Linked DNA regions of Homo sapiens: region 2 is linked to region 1. The links are contacts of gene promoters, found by promoter capture Hi-C in blood cells and fetal thymus (Javierre and others, 2016). All regions are on one chromosome and are shown on one strand. The core of a region is centred on a gene start or on the middle of the fragment in contact, and the rest is flanking DNA. Distances in the headings are between cores, read along the strand shown. Region 1 holds the start of OPN5 (opsin 5). Region 2 overlaps MMUT (methylmalonyl-CoA mutase).

Region 1 (3,947 bases), core at 520-3,019:
TGAAAGTACTTAAGTTTAATAAAAATGCAATGTGGATTTTACAGAGATAAGACAGTTTCTGTTCCAGCAGAATGTTTGCCCATTTTATTCTCTGCTCTATTCCCAGCAACTTAAAACAGTGGCAAAGAGTGGGCGCTCAATATATATTTATGTTGAAAAGAGATGGGGACTCATTTATAAGAAACAGAATTTAAACTAGTAAAACACTAACAACAATAAAGACAAAGACCCAGGGAATCACTTTACAGCAGAATTTGGTTGAATCACATGAGTTCCTTTTGCCTCAAGTACTGACCATAGAGGGATATCAAGTATTTTCTAATGAGTTTTGCTACTTTCAGGAGGTTAAATGAAATTCTTAGCCAGTAATAAATAGATGAGAGAGGGAGAAAAAGAGAGAAAGGGAGGAAGGGAAGAAGGGTGGAAGAGAAAGATAGAAACAAAGAGAAAAGAGAGAGAGAGCAAGTTTGACCCAACATCTGAAAAAATTAAAGGCAAACAAACCTAAAGACATAACCCACCTTCACACTGGTCACCCAAAGTTAAAACAACAATTTTAAATTTAAGAAAAGTATGGTTTCTTTTCTTAAATTTAAATAGGTGGTTAAATTAAATCCTAACTGTCTAGATTAGTGCTATCCAGTATAAATGTAATGTAAGCCAGAAATGCGAGCCACATATGGATTCTAAAATTTTCTGGTAGCCACATTAAACAAAGTAAAAATTTACAAAGTAAAAATTTAATTTATAAATTTAAAATTTACAGTAAATTAATTTTAATAATATATTTTATTTAGCTTAACATACCTAAAATGTTGTATGTTCAACATGTATTTAATTTTTAAAAATTATTAATGAGATATTTTATACCACTTTTTGTTGTACTGAGCCTTCAGTATCTGGTGAGTATTTACACTACAGCAACTTTCAATTTGGAAAAGCCACATGTGGCTACTGAATGAATGAGATCATGCAGTCTAGAAGCAGGTGCACCCTTTCGTCAATTATGCACAAAAATCTTTTGACCCCGGACTTTCTTCCATTTATCACCAACACATTTTTCAACTGTCACCAAAATGGCTTAGCTATTTTGATGCGACTTTACTTTTAGGTGAAGTAAACTCAGTGTTTCTGCCATTACTATAGTACTATAGCACAATAGCACAATTGAGTTTTGCACAGTTGTGAGAACAGGAGACTGACCTAGATTATTTTTAAGGCCCATTCTCAACCTAAAACTTATGATTATGTCAAAAACATTATTTAAAAAGCACTCTGTTTAAATAAAATATCATTATCATTAATTTTGGTATTCAGAAAGTAAATCTACTCCCAAAGTAACCAAAATGAAATGGATAAATAATTTTGCTGTAAGAGTTCTTGGATTATCAATGGAATTTTATTCCTAATAATAATGATAATAAAGAGTCATTTCTAGGAAACATTTATTGAATGCCATAATGCCATTCCATCTTCTGCCTTTCCCCACTCTTCGCCTCCACTAAACTATCCACTTAAGTATCAGAATCCTTTCACAAAATTAACATATCAGCCCATGAATTTTCTAAATGCAGCCTTTGCACAGAAGAATTAAGGAAGCTTACCAATTATTGTTAGGTAAAAGCCAGCCACTAAATCCGCTTCCCAAGAAAGTTTGGAAGCAAAAGGATCCCCATCTCGAAGGTAATGGGGCAGGCGCTCGTCCTGAGGCAGGGCAGTGTGATTTAACGCCATTCTGTTCTCGAACCACGAGGGATCTGAAAAGCAAACCAGTAGAGATCTCAGCAGACCTGAATAAGCCAGCTTGAACCATTTCATAATCGTGGCTCCTGTTTTAAAACAAAAAGCAAGTTCCCAGGGTCATGCATGATTCTCTAATTAATAACTGGTAAAAATTTTAACATTTTTTTCAATGATCCAATTATGTCATTACTCAGTTATTCGGTTGGCAGATTATCCAAGCCTTCATTTTCTCCTCTGTTTTCTCATGCTACTCTTTGAGCCACTTCTTTTCTCCTTGGGGTGATTAAAAGGTTGAAGGCCAAACTGTGCAATTTACTGTTTCTTAGCAATTTTTGTAAAGGTCTGAGCAGGAAATGATATTGTATGGAGTGTGCACACATACACACACACACACTATATATATATAATTTATGTATATAAATTATATATAATATATAAAAAATTTACATATGTATATATATAACTTGTCAGAATATAGTATTTTTTGATTATCCAGATTTCCCAGAAAATCATTTCCATTGTACATTCAATGAGGTTTAGAGTTTTGTAAGGAAAGAAATAGAGCATTCAGTACAAAGGAACATGGACACTTAATTAATTGAAGCTAAGAGCTAGGTGATTGTCAAAGTGATCTTGAAATTTGGAGCTATTTAGAAAGGATTCAAGCTGGGTTGTAACTCACAGGCACATCCACAGGAAGGTTTGTTTCTCAAGTTTCCTAGAGCAGAAAGCAATTTCATTATTTCTCACCACTGCCCCAAATCCATACTTTCTATTTGCTCATTTATGCTTCTGGATGAAATCTTGAGCATTGAGGAATTTCTCAGATACACAGGTCTTAGTACTGTTTCTTTTGAATTGGAGTTTTAAAAGGTTTACACAAAGTCTTTGATGGGCTTTCTGCAAAAATAAAAGTCACATGATATCCCTCATCCTGAAACTTGGAGTCGTGTGTTGTTCTTCAGATAAAGTATGCTGCTGATGTTAAAACTTCCTTTGGAAGGGTCATTCCTTTGTCATGATTGTTCCTATTTGTTTTGAAAGGGGAAGAAATACTAGTGTGGCTGTTTCTCTTTTGAACTTGCCTATTTCAAATCGAACCAACAGATGTCACTGTTCAGCTCTCTAGGCAACAATTTCGGGCATTATATGAGACAGCAAGTGGAACACAGAGTTGTGTGCCCCACAGGCGGTGACAGGGTGATCGGCACATATCTAACCATGTAATTCACCTTCGCAAAAGACATGAATTTAACCCCTTTCTAACTGCCAACTTACAGCTTACAGAGGAAGGCTAGTGACCCTTTCAGTGGCCAGTTGGCTGAAACTACAGTCTCCTACACACAGTTTGAGGACAGTCATGTGCTAATGTTCATTCCAAATCCTTCTCCCTGAGATGGTTAGAAAGCTGTAGGAGAAATCTTTGGCTGCCAGATGCACCACATCCCAAGACCTACCCCAGGTGAAAGTTTATCTTTACCTTTCAAACTCCTGATTCCCCTTTGACTGCCTCTTGTTCTGGTAAACTCTCTCCTCCCCAAAGATTGCCCCCGCCCAACTGGCTGTCCAGTCCTGTCCTCCACCTTAGCTTCAGAATCATAAGATGAAGGTTGGAGTCCAGCTGTGATACCCACCCTCTGATCTTGAGCAAATCATTTAAACTTTCTGAACTGCAACCACTTCATCTGTAAAATGGGCAGTCTCCTTCTTACCTGTCACTCATGCTTGTTGTAGGAGCAATAGGATATCGGACTCGAAAGCATATTATGAATGGGGGGTCCTGTATATTTATTATATGCTGAGATGCTTACTTTTCCCAAACTTGCCTATCCATCAAGATATAGCTATTGTATAAGAGATTTCCTCAGGGTCCCATGCTGAATCAATGGATGCTTGTGTGTTAACTCAAGTATTCACTGAACATCTACTACAAACCCAGCATTATGAGGTAGGACAACAGAGGTTTACCATGTTATCTAGACTTAGGGAGGGTATCTATCATTTTCTGGACAGAGAAAAGATGCAACTAATGGTCAGAAAATATAATAATAATACAAGAATATAAAACAATAAAATGCTGCTTTACTTGGTTTTAGAGAATTTTTTTGAGATAGGGTCTCACTCTGTTGCCCAGGCTGGAGTGCAGCGATGTGATCAGTGCTCACTGCATCCTCGACCTCCTAGGCTCAGGTGATCCTCCCAAC
Region 2 (3,947 bases), core at 308-2,807, 1.7 Mb before region 1:
CATTTTAAAATTTCTGTATTTAAAACATTCATGTTTTGAGTGAACTGTATTAATAATTGTGTATTTTACTGTGGCTGAGGAATTTTGAAACTATTGAAATGAATCCATTTCACTGATTCGCAGGTTGAAATGTGTTGGACTCTCAAGTATATCACCAGGTTTATGCCTATTACCTTGGTATTTTACCAGTTAAAATGGCTGTGGGGTGGGGAGGGGAACATTAATCTGAGAATTTATAGGAAAAACTTGTCATCCCATTGCTTTTGAATTAGTTTTAACCATGAAGCAACCGGAAGAGCAACCAACTTCCCCACACCCCCCTCCCAGTCCTTCCCTTGTTATTGGAGCCATGTGTTCCTTTAGGAGTAGAATACTTATTAATTGTTACTAGTCTTTTATCTCCTTTTGACATTTTGGTCTACTGCATTTGATTTTCTACTGTAATATAATTGCTCTTACTAAGTTCACTAGAGACCTCCTCTTTGTCTGATATTGTGAATAATTTTTAGTCCTTATCTTGAATTCTCTACAGTATTTAACATTATTGACCACCTCTTCCTTCTTGAGACGTTTTGCCTTTGTAACCCTTAACATGCTCCTTTGTCTCCTAACTTTTGTCATCCTGCATTTAAAAAAGGCTGAGTGAAAAACAGAATCTAATCTCATGTTATATCTGCTTCAGTGTTCCCATAGACACGATATTTGGCAAGGTAAAGTTTTTTGTACTTACTACCTAATAGGATTTTTGTGAGAAGACATTAAATCATTAAAAATAGTTCCTGGAACAGAATATGGCACTTAATGTGTTAATTTTTATTATTTTTCTATTTGTTGTTATTTAAAAATTATCTCATTATATGTATCATATATAAATAAATTTATTATATTAAGAACCAGAAGGAGTCTGAAATATTACCCTTCTTGCAAGCTAACAAGTTATCCTGTATAGTGGGGTGTTGGTTGATGATATGAGATCCCTGGATCAGAACCTAATGACAGTTTGTTACTACAATATTAATAGCCATAACATCAGCAGGTTTTGGGCTAGTTCCTTTGATGCCCAATTGATGTGAGTGATGTGAAAAGGACTGCTAGATGATACCTCATGTACAGTGCATTGGGTTACATTCAAGGAGAGGAAGCCTGAGCTTAGGGATTCGGAATCTTTTGTAATGGGTAATAAGCATGTCCTCCATTTTTCTAGAGGAAGACATTATTATATTGGACAGAAAGCAAACCTACTCTTTGCTCTGGAGGTAGCCAATATTTCTGTCTTCTAAGGCGATTCACTATACAGACATCTTTGAAAAGATAGTCCAGAATAAAGAGGTGTCAGTGCTTTGCTCCACAGGATGTGCAGAAAAGCAAGTGACCCATGGAAAATTTTCTCCCAATATATGGCAGTATCATTAAATGATTACTTTTGCTTTTAAGTGTTTATTTCTTAATATAATGAAGTTTTAAAAAAATATGTTGCTTTAACTGGTTAAGGTATAGTATAACTTGTATGTACTGTTTTTTTCTACTACTAATTTCATTAAAAAAATTAGATGACTTTTATTAAAGTCCTTTGATGGTTGCCCATTCCTTTTATATTCAAACCTAATCTTCCGATAGTCTGCAAGATGTGCTAGATGTGACTCTTGCCCATCTCTCTGACCTCATCTTATACCACTTTCCTCACTATGCCGTGTTCCTAATGCCCTTCTTTCTATTTTTAGAACATAAAACATATTTTCCTACATCTCAGAGCCTTTGCTTTTAGTGCTTCCTTTTTCAAACACTCTTACTGTTTTATGTTCCCTTGGGATCCCCCTTTTTATAATTTATATCTTAGTTCAAAAGTCATATCTTCACATCTTCAATAACTTTAAAATGGTTCTTCCAGACAGCCCATTCCATCTTTGCGTGGTTTAGTGTCTTTGTAGTACTTATTACCTTATGAAATTGTCTTACTAGTTTATTTATTTAGTTATTTATCATCTGCATCCTCTGACTAGATGTTACAGATGTTAATGTCTATAAGAACAAGTACTTTTTCTTTGGTCTCATTTATTACTGTATCGCTATAGTAGATATAGAGATATAGTAATATCTGGCACATATTAGGCACACAGCTAATGTTGGATGAGTTAGTGAACAAATGGATGGAATATGCTAAAAGATTTACTTCTTATCAAAAAATATTTATGGGAGTGTTGCTGTTTATCCATTTGTGTTAAGTGGTGAATTATTCAGCAACCTTCAGGTACTTGTCTATATATATAATTATTAGGTCATTCAGTCATTTCTTGGTTGACAAATGTTGAAAAGAGAATTGGATGCATAAAGGCATCCAGAATAAATTTTTCTTAAGTAATTTCAGAAGAGATGCTTTCATAATGCATTAAAAAATTCTTATTTTACATTTTTACAGTCATTTACTTATGTAATAAAATGTTTAATTATATTGAATATTATGGTAAACAGATATCTTTATCACAAAATAATGAAGTTAATGGAACCACCATTTCATGTTTCAGATGTACAGTGGGAGAAATCACAGATGCCCTGAAAAAGGTATTTGGTGAACATAAAGCGAATGATCGAATGGTGAGTGGAGCATATCGCCAGGAATTTGGAGAAAGTAAAGAGATAACATCTGCTATCAAGAGGTAATATGTAAGGTTTCTTAGGCCAGAATTTCATCTTTTCTGTTAGCACAATCCCCTTGAATCTACTGGGAGCTTAATTTCCTTACATACAACTGAGAAAATTTTTGAATTTTATAATAATAAATAGTAAATTAAATATTAATTATATAGACTATATAACATATAATAGAGTATATAATTTATTCATTACATATAATATATAATTAGAAATATATCATACATGATACATATTATATATCTATACTATCATTTTAATAGGTACATGATAATATTTAATAATAAATATCAAATATTGAAACTAATATTAGTTTTCATATAATTAATACTATTTTGAACTTTCACCATAGTCCCCTTCAGGAGTTTCTCATGTCAAACAGATGTTTAACTAACAATGATATTGCTTCATATCCTCCAGGTATTTATATTTCAATCTGCTTACTATGGTAGAGTTTCATATTTTTTGAAGTTGTTTACATTTTTCATTGCTTGAATAATTATAAAATCTTAATTTTCATAATTGAAAGTAAACATTTAGTTGGCATCTATGCATACATTACAATCAGTATTTATTGAACTGATAATAACTTACATTTATTTCCACAGCATGACTTGGAAATATATATTAATGTGATCATATTTCTCAAGTGTAAGAACTAGCTTTTTGATGATTGGTCTTTCCAACCTCTGTAACAAGCTTCCAATTAAAAACTGAATTTCCATACTTGTACACTAGATAAATATCAAAACAGCCAAGGTGAAAGTCATCAAAATGGAACTTTTTTCTTTTAACAAAGATAAGTGCTTTTTTGTGTTGGAAGTAAATTTGTCAGTGGAGCAAGCAAGCATTTTGATTTATATAGCATGATAAGAAACCATATTGCTGTTACCTTGGGAGAGTTCACACTTATGAAGGGTAGATGAGATATGGACAATTCAAAGCAGCCAGTCTATCACATATATGTATAAATGACCATGAAGTCACTTTTTAGTTTATATTTCAATCTTTCTGCATGTTGTACTCTGTACCCTGGCTCACGAAGGTGGGAGGTTGTCATTTTTTGTCTTAGTTCACCGTGATGTTCTCAGTGTTATGTGCTTACAGTCTGTGCCATCTTTCAGACTTTCCTCTAAGGGGGAAATGGCTTTAATGGAGCTCTCAATGTAAAATAGATGCATTAACAAAATATGGACGAGAGTAGGGAGATCATCACAAAGAATAGCTAATGGATGCTGGGCTTAATACCTAGGTGATGGGGTGATCTATGCAGCTGTTTACCATGGCACGTGTTTAAC

What was found. Contacts are between HindIII fragments. The CHiCAGO score rates a contact against its expected background, and 5 or more counts as called.
Region 2: a fragment that was not itself captured here is called in contact with the fragment with the promoter of OPN5 in region 1 in 1 of 17 cell types (M2 macrophages); the score reaches 9.6 in M2 macrophages.

What each region holds. Positions count from the first base shown.
Region 1 is chr6:47,779,854-47,783,800 of GRCh38, reverse strand. OPN5 (opsin 5) reads right to left here and starts at 1,769. Exons shown (of 7, transcript NM_181744.4): 1 at 1,605-1,769. The coding sequence starts at 1,734. The HindIII fragment of the contact is 3,260 bases long and covers 1,602-3,947 here.
Region 2 is chr6:49,440,547-49,444,493 of GRCh38, reverse strand. It overlaps MMUT (methylmalonyl-CoA mutase), which reads left to right. Exons shown (of 13, transcript NM_000255.4): 10 at 2,523-2,654. Among named protein-coding and RNA genes, the nearest start is that of MMUT, 21 kb to the left of the region's middle. The HindIII fragment of the contact is 3,587 bases long and covers 1-3,350 here.